Linked DNA regions of Homo sapiens: all the other regions are linked to region 5. Evidence: promoter capture Hi-C in 16 types of primary human blood cells and fetal thymus (Javierre and others, 2016). All regions are on one chromosome and are shown on one strand. The core of a region is centred on a gene start or on the middle of the fragment in contact, and the rest is flanking DNA. Distances in the headings are between cores, read along the strand shown. Region 1 overlaps NHSL2 (NHS like 2). Region 2 overlaps NHSL2 (NHS like 2). Region 3 overlaps NHSL2 (NHS like 2). Region 4 overlaps NHSL2 (NHS like 2). Region 5 holds the start of PIN4 (peptidylprolyl cis/trans isomerase, NIMA-interacting 4). Region 6 overlaps NHSL2 (NHS like 2).

The links. Contacts are between HindIII fragments. The CHiCAGO score rates a contact against its expected background, and 5 or more counts as called.
Region 1: a contact is called between a fragment that was not itself captured here and the fragment with the promoter of PIN4 in region 5, in 1 of 17 cell types (neutrophils). The highest score is 9.0, in neutrophils.
Region 2: a contact is called between a fragment that was not itself captured here and the fragment with the promoter of PIN4 in region 5, in 2 of 17 cell types (neutrophils and M1 macrophages). The highest score is 6.0, in neutrophils.
Region 3: a contact is called between a fragment that was not itself captured here and the fragment with the promoter of PIN4 in region 5, in 3 of 17 cell types (neutrophils, naive B cells and total B cells). The highest score is 8.4, in neutrophils.
Region 4: a contact is called between a fragment that was not itself captured here and the fragment with the promoter of PIN4 in region 5, in 10 of 17 cell types (neutrophils, monocytes, M0 macrophages and 7 more). The highest score is 18.2, in neutrophils.
Region 6: a contact is called between a fragment that was not itself captured here and the fragment with the promoter of PIN4 in region 5, in 1 of 17 cell types (neutrophils). The highest score is 5.6, in neutrophils.

What each region holds. Positions count from the first base shown.
Region 1 is chrX:72,044,297-72,046,996 of GRCh38, forward strand. All of the region lies in intron 1 of NHSL2 (NHS like 2), which reads left to right. It also overlaps the pseudogene RPS26P11. Among named protein-coding and RNA genes, the nearest start is that of RTL5, 86 kb to the right of the region's middle. The HindIII fragment of the contact is 3,461 bases long and covers 1-2,700 here.
Region 2 is chrX:71,984,034-71,986,733 of GRCh38, forward strand. All of the region lies in intron 1 of NHSL2 (NHS like 2), which reads left to right. Among named protein-coding and RNA genes, the nearest start is that of NHSL2, 75 kb to the left of the region's middle. The HindIII fragment of the contact is 1,866 bases long and covers 374-2,239 here.
Region 3 is chrX:72,026,225-72,029,129 of GRCh38, forward strand. All of the region lies in intron 1 of NHSL2 (NHS like 2), which reads left to right. Among named protein-coding and RNA genes, the nearest start is that of RTL5, 100 kb to the right of the region's middle. The HindIII fragment of the contact is 2,557 bases long and covers 276-2,832 here.
Region 4 is chrX:72,005,809-72,008,635 of GRCh38, forward strand. All of the region lies in intron 1 of NHSL2 (NHS like 2), which reads left to right. Among named protein-coding and RNA genes, the nearest start is that of NHSL2, 96 kb to the left of the region's middle. The HindIII fragment of the contact is 9,584 bases long and covers 1-2,827 here.
Region 5 is chrX:72,180,450-72,183,149 of GRCh38, forward strand. It overlaps PIN4 (peptidylprolyl cis/trans isomerase, NIMA-interacting 4), which reads left to right and starts at 1,308. Exons shown (of 4, transcript NM_006223.4): 1 at 1,308-1,379. The coding sequence starts at 1,337. RefSeq lists an enhancer at 1,348-1,567. The HindIII fragment of the contact is 4,711 bases long and covers 1-1,326 here.
Region 6 is chrX:71,967,349-71,970,048 of GRCh38, forward strand. All of the region lies in intron 1 of NHSL2 (NHS like 2), which reads left to right. Among named protein-coding and RNA genes, the nearest start is that of NHSL2, 58 kb to the left of the region's middle. The HindIII fragment of the contact is 2,494 bases long and covers 22-2,515 here.

The DNA of each region.
Region 1 (2,700 bases), core at 187-2,686, 140 kb before region 5:
ACAACCAGATTTAGGGCAGCTGACTGAATCCAGATTCCACCCAATTTTTGGAATTCTTCCCCCTAATCAAGTGGCAGGGAAGGTCCTGCTCCTAAACAAGAACTTACAACCACTTCAGCATGAGCATCAACCAGTATCCTTGTCAGGTGGCCCCCATTCCTCTACATTCCTGGATGGTTTGGGATCCCACAGAACTCTAATGATTACATAAGAAGAGTGGCCCGCTCTCTCCGGTCCATGCCTCCAAGATGACAAAGAAAAGAAGGAACAACAGTCATGCCAAAAAGGGCCGCGGCCACGTGCAGCCTATTCGCTGCACTAACTGTGTCCGATGCGTGCCCACAGACAAGGCCATTAAGAAATTCGTCATTCGAAACATAGTGGAGGCCGCAGCAGTCAGGGACATTTCTGAAGTGAGCGTCTTCGATGCCTATGTGCTTCCCAAGCTGTATGTGAAGCTACATTACTGTGTGAGTTGTGCAATTCACAGCAAAGTAGTCAGGAATCGATCTCGTGAAGCCTGCAAGGACCGAACACCCCCACCCCGATTTAGACCTGCGGGTGCTGCCCCACGTCCCCCACCAAAGCCCATGTAAGGAGCTGAGTTCTTAAAGACTGAAGACAGGCTATTCTCTGGAGAAAAATAAAATGGAAATTGTACTTAAAAAAAAAAAAAAAGAAGAGTGGCCCAAGGTAATTTTCTAACTGATGTGGCACTGGCTGCATAGCATGCTAGAAGCCCCCACGTGGAGCTATCTGGCCATCAGGGTCCAAGCTGACACTGGGAAGAGGAGCTGGAGACAACTAAGACCCAGCAGCCTTCCCAGCATCTAGCACACATAACAGCCCAAGTCAGGGCATGAGAAGCAGTCTGAATACAATGTCAAGAGTCACAGGGGTGTGGGAAACACTCAAGGCAGGTCTGCTACAGATGACTGTACTTGGGGAGTGCAGGGGAGCAGGGTGAAATAGCAGTCCTGGGCATACAATGGGAGGGATTAGCAGAGTCCCAGCAATGAGGGAAGGAGGGGCTGGCAGGAGCCAGACAGACCAGCGTGGCTCCCCAGCTGCCAGCTGAGGCTCAGGACTAGGTGCCAGGTCCCTTGTGGTGGGGTTGCTGGAGAGACCAAGGATGTTGGCCCGACACACAGTGGCCAGTCAGGAAAACCAGCCCCTCGTGGCAGGGGTGGAGGGGTGGTGGGAGGTGGGAGGCCCCCGTGGCCTCTGGGGCTCAGCTTGCTTCCAGGCTCAGAGGCATCACCCAGGGCAGCATACACTATTTGCAGTCCCCCTCTTATACCACTTTCTGAGGAGGGAACCCCCCAGTCCCCGGTCAGACTGGATTCACTCTGATTCCAGAGCAGGGCCAGTTGAGCAGGAAGAAGGGCTTTGACCTTCCCTGCTTACGGAGACAGGCCTTGGCCAGGCAGAGACTGACATATAAATAGCTTTTTATTCACTCAGAGCTTTAAGATGACCATGTGTGCCTTTTCGTATTGTGTACAGACCGCATACCTATGGCCCGCACAATTTGCATTTGTGCAGGGATATGGCAACAGTAAAAGTCTGCCAAACTGCTTTCATTTTTCTGATATGACTGAGAACTTCCCAGTGCCAAGGGCCCAAATGGGAACTCCCCCAGTTTTCTTAAGCTCCCTTCATAGACAGGTATAAACACCTAAACAGAGCTGCAGACAACCCCCACTCCCTCACCCTCATTCAGGGAGACAGTATCATGTTCATGGCCAATGAAAATCAAGACTGTCTCATGGAAACAGAGGGGCTCACCCGCATTGGTCCTGGGATGTTGCTAAGCACTTTCATTGGTCTGTTTCCCCGAATTCCCTAGGTCCTGCATTTCTAACCTTTTAAGGTTTGGAGTTTCTTTGCTCCTAGGCCGGCCCACAACCTCGTCTGATAGGTAAAGGACAGAATCTCTTAGACAACACCAGGCAACCTGTCTTCCCAGAAAAGTACTAAATGGCACTAGACTCTAAAATTCATCCCTAAAATTCTAAGAGCCATAAGGCAGCTCCATATACTGAGTAGAGGCATTGACCAGGCCAAGGGCTGCAAGTGGCAGACAGCTTGTGCTTCCCAGTTCCTGCATCTTTAAAACAAAGAGAAAAATACTCCTTGTACCTCCTGAGGGCTGATATGAGAGCAAACTAACTAATCAGAGTGATCACGATGCACTTTGCCAATATAAAAGTGAGCCGGCAGTGCTCATTATCGCTAAGGAATCTAGCCCATTTCCTCCTCTTCCTGTGGTTACTAATGCAGAAGGCTTATTAAAGTTGAGAGTCTGGTGGTGCTGATAAATGGGCCATGCCATCTGGATTCTGGCTCCCAAGTCCTAGACTGAGGATTATGCTCTCTTCCCTGGGGACATTTCAAGGACGGACACTGCAGAGAAAGGTTTCAGGGATCACCTTTGCCATGTGTTTCTGGTTCTCGGTGTCTTTACATTGCTGGCAAAGCACCTTTTGCTGGCCCAGAGCAAGATTCAGATGGAGCAGATAAATGAGTTGCCGCTGTGCTGCACTGGGCTGGTTTCTCTTGTAAGTCTTTTTTCATTTAAGCCCCCAAACAACATTATTAATTTGGTATTGTTATTAGTAACAACAGAGTTGTGCAGATGGAAAGACTGAGATTCAGAGAGGTTAAGTGACATCTCCAAAGTCACAAAGCTAATAAGTG
Region 2 (2,700 bases), core at 57-2,556, 200 kb before region 5:
GATGGAGTTGCTGTGGTTCAAACACCTCTGACATTTCCCCCCTCACTTTTATAAGAGAACCCTTAATCCTAAGGGTTGCAGAGGGACAAAGATCCATCTTCTAATGAATAGCGGTGATGATATTCCTGTCTAACTATTAGATCTCTTGCAATCAGGGTAGAGAGGAGCTCAGTCAGAAAGCATTGGTATGTCATGGGCCATTCACAATTCTGAGTTCTGACAAAAGGTGATATCTTGAAGATTAATAAGTATTCAATGTAAGAAAACATTCGGTAAGCTTATCCTGCATTCCTACACAAAGAGTACAACAGCAATATATTCCACAATAGTAAAGCAAAATAAGTAAAATTGTCCCTAGTAAACTAAATTAGAAAGCTTTCCATGAACTAGGCATTTGTTGGAACCAAGCTAATATGGGGTTGCTAGCCAATTTCAATATGTGCCCAGAATTGGAATACTGATCCAGATTTTTACATTACCCATCCCTCTTGTTTCTTCTGAGAAGCAGTCAGAGATCACTGGATGATTCACAGGAATAAGCAGAGTCAGTATAAATTGCAGAAAAATACTTAAAAACAACTAATGAGACTAAAAGCTAATAACAGGTATACCACAATTCTTGAAACATAATTTTTTCTCTCTCCAGTCTCCCATTTTTACTAAAGGTAAATCATGGTAAGACTGATTTGCTTTATTATACCTGGTTGGACTGTTTGTATAAAGTGCAGCAAGAATAATTATTTTTCACATAAGCCCTTTTTAAATTGGCTTTAATGGAGCTCTATTTCTTTCCTTTTTTTTTTTTTTTGAGATGGAGTCTTGCTCTGTCGCCCAGGCTGGAGTGCAGTGGCACGATCTCGGCTCACTGCAAGCTCTGCCTCCCGGGTTCATGCCATCCTCCTGCCTCAGCCTCCTGAGTAGCTGGGACTACAGGCACCTGCCACCATGCCCGGCTAAGTTTTTGTATTTTTAGTAGAGATGGGGTTTCACTGTGTTAGCCAGGATGGTGTCGATCTCCTGACCTCGTGGTCCGCCCACCTTGGCCTCCCAAAGTGCTGGGATTACAGGCATGAGCCACCGTGCCCGGCTGATGGAGCTCTGTTTCATAGATGGAATCTCAGATCTTTTTAAAGCCGAGCCCAGCCATGGATTTGTGCCCTCAAATACCCATAAGTTGAGTAAATCCCTCTCCCCTTGAGGTCCCAAGATAACTTGGGGCTCCTGGGCCTGTCAGAAGGTGACATTCTTTAAACTTACCACAGGTCAGGAACCTTGTACAGGAACTGTGTAGACAAGGTATGAGGCCAGTTTCCCAAGGGGCTTTTATTGGCTCTATAAGTCAAGTTTGATTCCTTAAAGGAAAGCACACCATTCCATTCAAAGCCTTGGTAAAATAACCAGTTTCTCAAATTGTGTCCTGTTGCAAAAGAAAACAGATTCTTATTGCACTTATGCAAATAACTATTGCTATAAGTTAAGAACACTCACAACTAGTTTCCAAATTCTGGAGAAATCAGGTAGAGAGAAACAAATATGCTCCAAGTTTTATTCCCAGGAATATACTTTACTCAATTGTTAAAAGCTGTAAATAGCTTAAAAGAAAAGTTTCTTTGACTCTGAAAAACAAAACAAAAGGATCCGCAATGCTTTAAGCTAAGTTAAAAAAGATTGCTTCAGTCTTCTATTAGGTCAGTCCATTCAGTCAACTCCTGTTCTGCTTTATATTCATGAACATTTCAGCTTTCCATGAGTCTTGAAAGTTTTTCCTCTATTCTAATGTCATAATCTCCAAAGTTATTAGAAACCTGCATTCAAGAACACCTGTTAGAGTCCTGTAGCTGATTATAAACCACCTTTTAAAGAGGATCAAAACAAGACAACAATTGCCTGTGGATGACAAAATGTCTTAGGGCAGCCACAGCCAAAAACATGATTGACAAAGAAATTTGGTTACCTCTACGGCACACAATGATTTTATGTAATAATTATAATTATTACTGATAATATATGCTAAGTTATATTAGGATTATAAGAGTTTCCCATAATTTTGAACACATACCAATAACATATTTCTAGAAATACAGCCCAAAAAAGCCAAACACCATCTTATATTTGAGAATGTTTCCTGTATGACTTTTATACCAAATAAGCCAAATGTCACTTTTGGACTTTAGGCAACCTAATATCTAAAAGATTAATTAGGTCAGAAAAAGTCATAGTTTATAATTTCACTTTGGAAAGCTTATCAAATATTAAAGGCTTAAGTCACTTGATATTATAAAAAGAATCCCAGGTCACCGTAAGTCACTCATTTAACCAAAATGATAAATATTTTAAAAAGGCAAAACCCCATACTCACTAAGAGAGGAGAGAATCAGCTTTCTAAACAAGACCCAATAAAGACAGCATGAGGCCAATTGAATCTTGAATCTGTCTTTTCTTTTTCCCCTCCCTTTTTCCCTGCCATTTATCCAAAGTCATAGACAAAAACCTTTCATTATCTTTTCATATTATGTAAAAATCTTTTTTGAAACAGAAAACCAAATTTCATATTTGCATTAGTGCATTTTTCATGCCAAAGCTAGTTTTAAATAACATTTTATAAGTTTATCCAGTTTTAATTAGTTTGACCATAAGGTATGATTTTCATAAACCTCTTATAACTCTTTATAATTTTTGTTAAACAGATCAATCTTCTAA
Region 3 (2,905 bases), core at 304-2,803, 150 kb before region 5:
GAGCTTTTGAAATGGCGCTGCCCAGGCCTCATCCCAGACTATTGGAATCTGACTCTAGGGATGGGGATGGAGTTGGAGTATTTTTTCTGCAGCTCCTCAGGAGATTCTAAAGTGGAGACAAAGCTGAGAACCATGGCCTCAGAAGGAAAAGGGCCTGTGTGCTGCTCTTTGGGGACAACAAGGAAGGAAGAAGAAACTCAGAGATCATGCCCTGCTCTGCAGACAGGATGAAAAAGAACAGAAGCCCAGGCATGGGGAGGAGGTGGGCAGCTTTAAGCTTTAGGAAACAGTGGGAGCTGGAGCCTGCAGCAAGAAAGAGCTATGGGGAAGGCACCACAGCCAGAGGCTGTCCCAGGCCCTGCCAGGCCAATGGCCTAGGTGGTTTTCCTGCAGAAGGAAATGGGAAATATGGAGGTGAGGGCGAGATAAGGTTGTAAGGATGTACTCACAGCCTCTTTCTGCACCCTCAAATGGCAGATCCTGATAAGTTGTTAACACCTTGTAAGAAACACGAGAGACAGTCTGTTCCACCTCCTCCCCTGGCACACATACAAAATGACTCCCCATCTACCCACTCATAAGATCACATCCGGATTCCACCATCACCCAACCCAGCAGAAAGTCCCACCTCTGGTCTCTGTAAATATCTGCCAGCCAGAGCAGTACAGCATGCCAGGGTCAGACACCAGTTCCCCAAGTGTGCTACCTTTTGTTATAAGAGGAGACTTCAGCAACTTGGGAGCTGGGCAGGGCTGCAGTGATGATCTTTTCAATGTGTGAAGAAGGGAAACTGTGTTTGAGAGGAGAAGAGGAAAGTGGTTGGCCTATGGTGCCACAGGGAGTAGCAGAAGAGACAGGATTCCCTGTCCAGTGCTCCCTTCCCTACACACCCTGAGACTTCAGCTTTGGTCCCTAATCTGCCAGTGCCAGGAAACTGGCCCACTTCCCACTACAGCCCTGTGGCTCTGACAGGGTCTCTCATGATATCCAGCAGAGATCTTGAGTCAGCTGCTCTGAAGGAACTTCCAGTAAGGCTCCAGCTTGGAGTCTGGATCAGGAGTTGGGGCATGGGGCATTTTGAGTTTCGTGCTTATGTTGCCTTCCCCCCATCTTTTGCTCCTGGACATCTTTTGGCTAGGTGGGGTTTTCCTCACTCCCCACCTCCAAAGCGGAGACTATGTCTTTAAGAAAGGACGAGTCAGAGCCGCGGGGATCAGTTTCAAGCAGCCCTCAGAAGGCGAATCTGGATTGAGTTTAGGAAGAAAAAAGAAGGGGTTAGCTTTGGTCCTGCCTCCTTTCCTTTCTCTCATTTGCTCGTCTCTCCTCCGTCCTTCGTCTGGAAATTTGGTGAACTTGGCCAGGAGGTTCCAGAGCCCAGGGCTTTCCCCAGCAGCCTCGTCCTCTCACCTGGTCCCTCCTTCAGCTCCTGAGCACACAGTTTGGAGGACAGCTGGACAAGTGGCTGGAATGAGTAGGTACGTGGTCTGGACATTTTAACCTTCACCCTGTCAGGGAAGTCTGGGGAGTGTCCAACACAGACCCTGTGGGAGGCGGAAGGGAACTCTCAAGACCTCCGAGAACCTTGGTAACCGAGGCAGGAAGGAGATGGGTGGGCTTTGGTGACTCCACTAGGGGTTTTGTATTAAGGGTCAGAAGGAGGCTTGGTCCATGCAGCCTGGCCTACCTCCACCCTCGTGAGTTGCCTACCAAACCCATGATGGGTGGGAGTTTAGGAGTGTGAGGTGTTGAGTTTGCTGCTGCTGCTGCTGCCGCTGCTGCTGCTGCTGCCACTGCTGCTGCTAGAGGAATGGAGGCCAGAGGGTGCTAGGAACCCTATGAGAAAAGCAGATGGCAACATGTCCAGCCCCAGCCATCTGTGACTCTGGTGGCATGGAACCACTCAGCTAAGGTGAATGGGATTCAGTCTGCTCCAGCTGCATGTGCAGTGGGCCAGGAGCCACTCAAGGTCTTCTTGGGCTTACTTTTTTCAACTTTGTTGGATGACTACAAGCAAGGCTTTTAGCTTTTAAGGACTTCAGTTTACACTTCAGGGAAAATGACTTAATGCTACTCAGCTGAAAGGGGGAAGCACAAAGGAAGAGGTAGAGAAGGCAAACTGGGTTTGTGATAGAGATTCAAGGAGAGCTCGAGATTTCTGTGAGCTCAAGGATGTTTTCCCCTATTATTTTAGGAATAATTCATTCATTTATTTGTGTATTTAATCAGCAAGCATCAGTTAAATGCCTATTGGTGCCCGTCACTGGTGTCAGGGAACCAGCAATCCAATATGGCAGCAGGTCCTTCCGCCTGGCCTCCTTCCCCAGATCTCTACTCCTCCCTTTCCCTCACCCCTCAGCTGATTTGAGAGAGGAAGGGGCACTAGCTTCTAGTGTACTGAGGTGACATGATAAGGTCATGATAGGTGCTGACATTGTTGGCACTAGAGTGGGTACATCTCATTTGACAACACTCTCTCTTGAAAGAGATTTGGGCCTGGGTCCCAAACATTACCTCAGCCACTGGGAAGGATTTTGAAGGTCAGGAAACAACAGGGATCCACAAGTTCAGCCTAACCCCTCCCTGACAGAAGGGGTGGCCCAGGCCTTCTTTGGACATTGTCGGTAGAGCTGGGCCCCTGGTTGGGTCCTCAGCATCATATGTGGACCAAGCGTTGTTTGGATTTGCCAAGAACATCTAAGGACTTTGGTCTTTGTGATTTAAGTAAGTTGTCATAACTTGGGCAGGAGGCATGCTGGGATCTCAGCCACCTGGCTGTTGGGGAAGGGATAGGGTTGGGAATACTGGCTCTTGGGTGGTCCTTTGGGTGTGGAAAGCTTAGGCATGGCATAGACAAGCATGTATGTGTGTATGATATAGGAAGTATCCCCCAGGAGAAAAGGCCCGG
Region 4 (2,827 bases), core at 215-2,714, 170 kb before region 5:
GGGGCAGGCATCGAGATGGCAATTTCGGACATGTTGATGAGATGATTACTTGAAAATGTCCAGAAAGTAACTAGAATCTGATCCCAGGGGCAAGTGAGAGGTCAGCTCTCAAGATATAAATTTGGGATAAGCCCACGTTGAGGTAGGAGTTAGACCTGAGGCCCAGGTTCCATTAAGGTTATCCAGGGAGAAGGTGTTGGGAAAGTTGCAGAATGACTCCAGGATAAGTCCAGAGGTAGAGAAAGTAGGCCCCAGTGGTATCTCTTCTCTGCCTCCTCATTTCTGTTCCCATGGTTAGCACCCTGTTTCAGGACTTCAATTTGTGACAGGACCACTGCAGCAATCTCCTTACTGGCCTCCTTTCTGCTTTTGGTCTCTCTGCCTGTCCGAATTTTCTTTTTAAAACATGGCTTTCATCATGTCCCTTCCCAACATTCAACAAGTCCAAACTGCTTAGCCTTGCATTCTCACCCACTGCGATCCAGCTTCCCACCAACCTGACACATCTTTGGTGAGTTGGCTCCGCGTTCCCCTTTCCAGGTTCATGGTTTATCCGTCTCTCAGACCTTACTGTGTGGCTACACAGAACCCCAAATACACACTGCCTTCCTCTCCTCCATGCTATCTCCACCCCTGGGATGCTCTTTGACCCTCTTTCCATTTGGAAAAATCTCACTCAGGCATCAAGGCCCAGTGCAAGTCTCCTGCATTTCCCCAACCCCTCAGAGGCAGGCAGATGCCTTCCCACCTCTGTGCACCCTCCTCTCCAGCTCTCGCTCTGTTGCCCAGGCTGGAGTGCAGTGGTGCCATCACGGCTTACTGCAGCCTTAACCTGCTGGGCTCAAATGAGCCTCCTGCCTCAGCCTCCCGAGGAGCTGGGACCACAGATGTGCCACCATGCCTGGCTAATTAATTTTGTAGAGAAAGGTTCTTGCTCTGTTGCCCAGGCTGGTCTTGAACTCCTGACCTCAAGAGATCTTCTCACCTTGGCCTCTCAAAGTGCTGGGATTACAGGTATGAGCCACTGCTCCTAGCCATCCAGTTTTTCGTATACACCATGGGACTGCAAGTCTCTCCCACAAGACTCTGAGGGCAGTGACCATGACTCGTTTTGCTCTGCAATTCCATTGCCCAGCCCAGTGTGAATGGACAAGAAAGTGGGGCTGAGGATGGGCTGGTATGGCAGGGCAAAGAGGAAGTGGAATGGTCTCTTTCAAACCTCACCATGGATCTACTTGAGCCACTTTTACCTGCTCTCTCCCTACAAGTACTGTCTTTGGATGAGGGTTTGTGGAAGAGCTAGGAAAGAGAAGGAGCCAAGGCAAGGGACAGGCAGAGGGAGCAGCGTGGAGAAGAGAGGAGATGCTGAGAGGATGAAAGAGAAAGAAAGTGGGGGAGAGCAAACGTCTGCATTGGTGGTTCACATACATAAAGGATTCAGGTATGGTAGAGTGGAATAAGAAAACATTTGGGATTCTGAAAATAAAATCAGCTGCTTTGGCAGGTCAGCTGAATGTACAGTTAATTAATAGGCATTAGTGCCCTTTGGTGCTAAGCTGTGCATGGAACCATGTCCTGCTGGGATCAAATGGCAGCTACCCGGGGATGCCCTTTTAATAAAGAGCAGAAAGCAGCACTGCCATGTAAGAGCTGCAGAATCCCTCAGAGAGTTCTTCTTAAGGGCACCAGGGACCACTGGAACCCCAGAGTTGCCCCACATCACTGGCCTGGCTCTTGCCAAAGAAAGGTGGGCATGAGAAGAGAACTAACACATACTGAGCAGCTAGTATCCCAGGGGCTATGCCAGACACACAAAAGCTCATTTGATCTTTACTGCAACTCTGTGAGGTAGCAATTAGCCCTGTTTTACAGATTAGAAAATCAAGGTCCTAAGGAGGGTTAAGAATCTTGCCCAAGGGCACACCGCTTGAAAGTCTTGGATCCCAGATTCCAATGAAGGTCATCCTCTCCCCTTGATGAGCGGGCCAGGACCCAGAGGTTGGCAGCAGTTTGCTCTCCATTCTGGCTGACTTTGGCTGTGGGGCTGATCTCTTTGGATTGATTTCTTTGAACATAAACAAAATACCATCAGTTTTTCCTGGCTTTGGAATGAGCCCTCAGAATCATGTGCTTTTCTCCAGTTTCCAGCTGGGTGCCTTTGCTGGGGGAGTTCGTGAATATGAAGCAACAGGTCTCATTCTGAGAATCAACACTGTGCACCAAAAAATACCAGGGTACTTTTGCTCCCAGGAGGTATTTCAAGCTGGAGGCTTTCAGCCTATGGGGCCAAGTTTTCCATTTTTTCTTCCCTTTCAATGACCTGCATATGATTGACAGTTGCCTGTTTTCCCAGGAAAATTATAAAATCTTTATCAAAATATTGGCACCTTTGAGTTGTTGCCCACACTCTGTTCTGACTGACTGTGTGACCCACGTCCCTATCTGCTCAGTGGTTGGACGTGTTCTGTCTGCTGTCAACCTGTGAGTCGGTGAGTAGAGGACAGGAGGTATGGACAGGACAGGCTGCGGACAGTGTTTTCCAAAATTCTGATGTGACATGTTTAAGCCAATTCGTGGAGGAGCCAATGGAGGTAGAGTGGCTGGAGCCAATAAGGGGTTTAGAGCAGGGGACAAAATGGCACCCAGCACCACCCCATGGAGATGCGGCTTTGGGGTGGGGTAAGTTGGCTAGAAAACCGATGATGATCGTTTTCTGGAGTTGTTCTGGAGTCAGGAACAGTCTAGAAACCCTTTGAATTGAACCTTGGCACAGAGTTGTATGTCCCACACATGTGATAGGGTATTAGGATTATCATGCTGCATGCAA
Region 5 (2,700 bases), core at 58-2,557:
CAAGCTAGGACAGCTCTCTCATGGACTGGAGGAAACGCCCTGACATATCATATACAAATTATTGATGGTGGGAGGGATTGTAAGGGGAGAAAAAGTGTGTGGGCACAAATTCAAAAATCATTTATCTTAGGCAAACATTATTAATATGAGCAAGCCATCATTTTATGTGCTTTACAGATATGAACTTGTTTAATTCTCTTAACACCTGATAGGATAATAGTAGGTACTATTATCATCAACTCCATTTCACAGATGATGAAACTGAGCCAAAGAGAGGTGAAGTAACTTCCTCAAGGTCATGGAGCTAGTAGACAGATGTGGAGCAGGGATTTGAAACTGGGCAATCTGGCTCCAGAATCCATGCTTTTACTACACTATGCTGCACCATTATGGAAATTTTGGAAAATACACAGAAACAAACACGATGACCTGTATGCACTAGCACCACTGGCCACATCTTGCTCTATAGCTTTCCTCTCCTTTATATTCATATAACATACAATACATTACATATACTTCTTTTACAAGGAATCATATTCTTTATCTTGGTCTTAAAAACATTTCCCCTATCTGTACACACAGCCTTACAATCGTTATTTTGAATGTTGTATAATATCTTCTTGTGTGGCTAAAACATTATTTAAGCAGTACCCGACTGAGGAGCACTCAGACTGCTTCCAATGTTTCTCCATGACTGAGCTCTGCAAGACGCAAAAAGGTGACAGGCTTTTTTAAAAACTACCTTTTGAACCTAATTAGCTACAACTGCAGAATAAAATTAACAAACGAAAAACTGCCAGGGAGGGCAGCCCTGTGTGTAGGAGGAGACAGCGGAAGTTGGCCGCCACCACAGTACTCCTGCTTCCCTTTGTCTGGCGGCCCCGCGGGATTGGCCAGAGCTGGCGCCGAGGGACTGCAGAGCCACCCACCCCCGTGGCTCCTACTGCGCACGCGTGAAAAAAGCCAGGTTGAGGGGAACGGGGGAGCTTCGGGCGTAGAGTGTGGGGAGTGGGGGATCTGGTGCAAATTAGGGTGCGTGAAAGAAGTCACAAAAAGCGCAGAGGCCAGGCTTCCCGCCCTAATCCGGCCTTTGTCTCCGCCCCTCTGCCTTTGTTTCGGCCCAAGCGTCTTATTGGTCAGACATCTTCAGCCCCATTGGTCCAAGAGCCAAAGGACGGGGTCTGCCCCAAGCTGTGCCTGCTTCCGGAGCCGCAATAAGAACGGTCAATTGAGATGCGGCTTTCAGGCATTTGTTTAGGACATGCCCATGGCGGGGCTTCTAAAGGGGCTTGTACGGCAACTGGAGCGGTTCAGCGTTCAACAACAAGCTTCCAAGATGCCGCCCAAAGGAAAAAGTGGTTCTGGAAAAGCGGGGAAAGGTAGAGCGGCCAGAGCGATCAAGGAGAATGGGGGCGGGTGAGGAGCGAAGGGAGGGAACAGACAGTCCATCTCCGGAGTCCGGGACGGACGCAGCAGGTAGCCAGTGGCCCCACAGTGCTGCCATCGATTACATCTGTAGGAATACATTGGGCTACGGTTCAGGGACCGTCCTAGTGGGTAATGGAATCTGATGGGGATAGTTCCTCGGAGGCGATGACTTAGGGCTGCTATTTCAAGGGGTTATTAGAGCTCTAAAATTGGGTCTTATCAAAAGCCAGCAATAGGAAGTACACATTGGTTATGGTCCTTAAAGTTCACTTTAATGCTTACAGAATGACATGCCCACCATCGGGGAAGGAATCATTCATCCATTGAACAGAAATGTGTCAGGCAGAGTGCTAAGCGCTGAGGATACACAAATAAGACAGAAGGCTGGGCGCGGTGGCTCACGCCTATAATCCCAGCACTTTGGGAGGCCGAGGGAGGATGGATCACGAGGTCAGGAGTTCGAGACCAGCTTGGCCAACATGGCGAAACCCCGTCTCTACTAAAAATACAAAAATTCGCCAGGCGTGGTGGTGGTGCGCGCCCGTAATCCCAGCTACTCGGGAGGCTGAGGCAGGAGAATCGCTTGAACTCGGGAGGCAGAGGTTGCAATGAACCGAGATCGCGCCACTGCACTCCAGCCTGGGCGACAGAGCGAGCCTCTGTCTCAAAAAAAAAAAAGAGATTTTGGCCTTAAGGAGCTCCCGAAGTAGTGAGGAAGATAAAGGCTTAGTGATCATAAAGCACTGTACTAAATGTAGTGTTGAGGGATGTGTATGGGATATAATAGAAATTGAGGGAAGTCCTTCATTTAGCTGGGGAACAGGGAACGGAAGACTTCCTGGAGATGAATTAGGCAGGTCAAGATGTGCATTGAGGGTAGGTTAAAGCATTCCTTACTTGGGGTCCAGCAGCAAAAGCACTGAGGTGAGAAACAGCATGATGTGTGCAGCGTAGTGTTGCTGGAGCAAAAACTCAAGGCAGAATGGCAAGTGGTGAGAATGAAAACAGAAACAAAGACGAGATCATGGAGAGTGCTATATATTCTGCTAAGAAGGACAGTTAAGGATCAGAAAGACCTGTAAGGAGATTGTTGTGGTAGTCTTGGTGAGAGATGATGGTGGACTGACCTAAGGGAGTGGCTGTGGGAACTGAGAAAAGAGAAAAGATTCTGTAAATATTAGGATGTGAAATAGTCAAGACTTGGTGATTTATTGGGTTGGGGAGGGGTGGTGAGGGAGGATCAACGATCATTCTGTTTTCTGGATTGGATTT
Region 6 (2,700 bases), core at 19-2,518, 210 kb before region 5:
CTTCTATTTTCCAAAGGTGGAAGCTTAGGTTTTTCTTCTTTTCTAATATATACATTCTTCATTTCTAATATGTACATGCTATAAATTTCCTTCTAAGCACTGCTTTTGCTGCATCCCTCAAATTTTGATATATTTTCATTTTCATTTAGTTCAATATATTTTGTATTTCTCTTGAGATTTTTTCTTTGATCCATGTTTTATTTAGAAATATATTGTTTAATCTCCAAGTATTTCAGGATTTTCTAGACGTCTTTCTGTTATTGATTTCTATTTCAATTCCATTGTAGTCTGAGAGCAGACATTATATGATTGCTATTCCTTTAAACTTGTAAAAGTGTGTTTTATGGCCCATAAAAAAGTATTAACTGTTGTCAGATTTATCCTCACTGAGCATCCAACAATTCATCAATTACAATTCAGGTTTTCCTACTCCAGTACTGATTTCTGTTCATGAGTTTCTCTTCCCATGAGTTGTGATTCTCTGTGTTCATCTGTCTGTCTCTAATTTTGAGGGCAGAGGTTTGCCCTGTGACCTCATTTCTCTGATTAATCTAAGAAGAGGTATTGATTTTTCAGTGTGTTCAGCTTTTTACTTGTTAGGATGGGGAGCGACTTCTAAGCTGCGTGCATGTTAACCGGAAGTCAATCTTTTTTTTTTTTTTTAAGAGACAGGGTCTCTGCCCCATTGTCCAGGCTGGAGTGCAGTGGTACAATCATAGCTCATTGTAACCTCATATTCTTGGGCTCAAGCAATGTTCCTGCCTCAGCCTCCCTAGTATCTGGGACCACAGGCACACACCACCATGCCTGGCTAATTTATTTAATTTTTTGTAGAGATGGGGGTCTTACTATGTTGCACAGGCTGGTCTGGAACTCCTGGCCTCAAGCAGTCCTCCTACCTTGGCCTCCCAAAGTGCTGGGATGACAAAGAGCAGTGGCATGAGCCACTGCTCTTCACACTGTCATGCTTGAAGTGGAACCTGCCACTTCATTTCATACTGCTGAATAATATTCCATTCCATCTTATAGCTATACCACATTTTATTTATCCATTTACTAGTTGATACACATTTGTGCTGTTTCTACTTTTTGGATATTATGAATAATGCTGCAATAAATATTTATGTAATGTGAGCTCTTTCTGCCCTTTTTTGTATGGCATCCTTTGATGCACAAAAATTTTTCACCTTGATTAAGTTTAACTTGTCAATCTTTTTTTTTGCTTGTGTTTTTGGTGTCATATGTAGGAAATCATTGCCTAACCCAATATCATGCAGATTTTCTTCCATGTTTTATTCTAAGAGTTTTATAGTTTTAGCTTTTACATTTAGTCTATAATCTTCTTTAATTTTTGTGTATAATCTCAGATAGAGGTCCTACTTTATTCCTTTGCATGTGGCTATCCAGTTGTTCAGAATTATTTGTTAAAAAGACTTTTCTTTCCCCATTTAATTATCTTGATATCTTTGTCAAAAATCAGTTGACCATAATTTTAGGGTTTCTTTATCATCTCTTGCTTATTCAGTTGATCTAAATATCTAGTCTTGTGCTAGCACCATGCAGTCTTGATTATTGTAGCTTTGTGGTAAGTTTTGATATTGGAAAGTATAAATCCCCCAAGTTTGCTGTTCTTTTTCAAGAACATTTTGGCTATTCTGAGCCCCTTTCATTTCCATATGGATTGTAGGATCAGCTTGTCAACTTCTGCCAAAAAAGATAGCTGGGATTTTCACAGGGATTGTGTTGAATCTGTAGATAAATTTGGGCCATGTAGCTATCTTAACAATATTAAATTTTCTGATATATGAACATGAGATGTTTTCCCATTTATTTATATCTTTTAAGATTTTTTCAACCATGTTTTCTAGTTTTCGAAGTAAGAAATTTTTACTTCTTTTGTTAAATTTATCCCTCCTTTTTTTTTATGCTTTTGTAAGTTGAACGGTTTTCTTTTTTTCTTTTTTTTTTTTCTTTTTTTTTTTTTGAGACAGTCTCGCTCTGTTGCCCAGGCTGGAGTGCAATGGCGCAATCTTGGTTCACTGCAACCTCCACCGCCTGGGTTCAAGCGATTCTCCTGCTTCAGCCTCCCCAGTAGCTGGGATTACAGGCACCCACCACTGCGCATGGCTAATTTTTGTATTTTTAGTAGAGACGGGGTTTCCCCATGTTGGCCAGGCTGGTTTCGAACTCCTGACCTCAGGTGATCCACTCGCTTCAGCCTCTCAAAGTGCTGGGATTACAGGCGTGAGCCATCACGTCCGGCCAAATGGTTTTCTTAATTTCATTTAGCAAACTTGTTGAATTTGTTTATTAATTCTCATAGATTTTTAGTGGTTTCCTTAGGATTTTCTATATACAAGGTCATATTATCTACAAATAGAGATAGTTTTACTTCTTCCTTTTTAATCTGTATGCCTTTTGTTTCTTTTTCTTTTTAAACTAATTGCTCTAGCTAGAACCTCCATTACAATGCTGAACAGAGGTAGTGAGAACAAACACCCTTGTCTTAGGGAAAAGCTTTCTGTTTTTCACCATTAAGTATGGTATTGGCTGTGGGTTTTTCGTAGATGCATTTATCAGGTTGGGATGTTTCCTTCTATTTCTAGTATGTTGAGTGTTTTTATCATAAACAGGTGTTAGATTTTGTCAGATAGTTTTCTGCATCTGTTGAAATCAGCGTGTGGTTTTGGCCCTTTATTC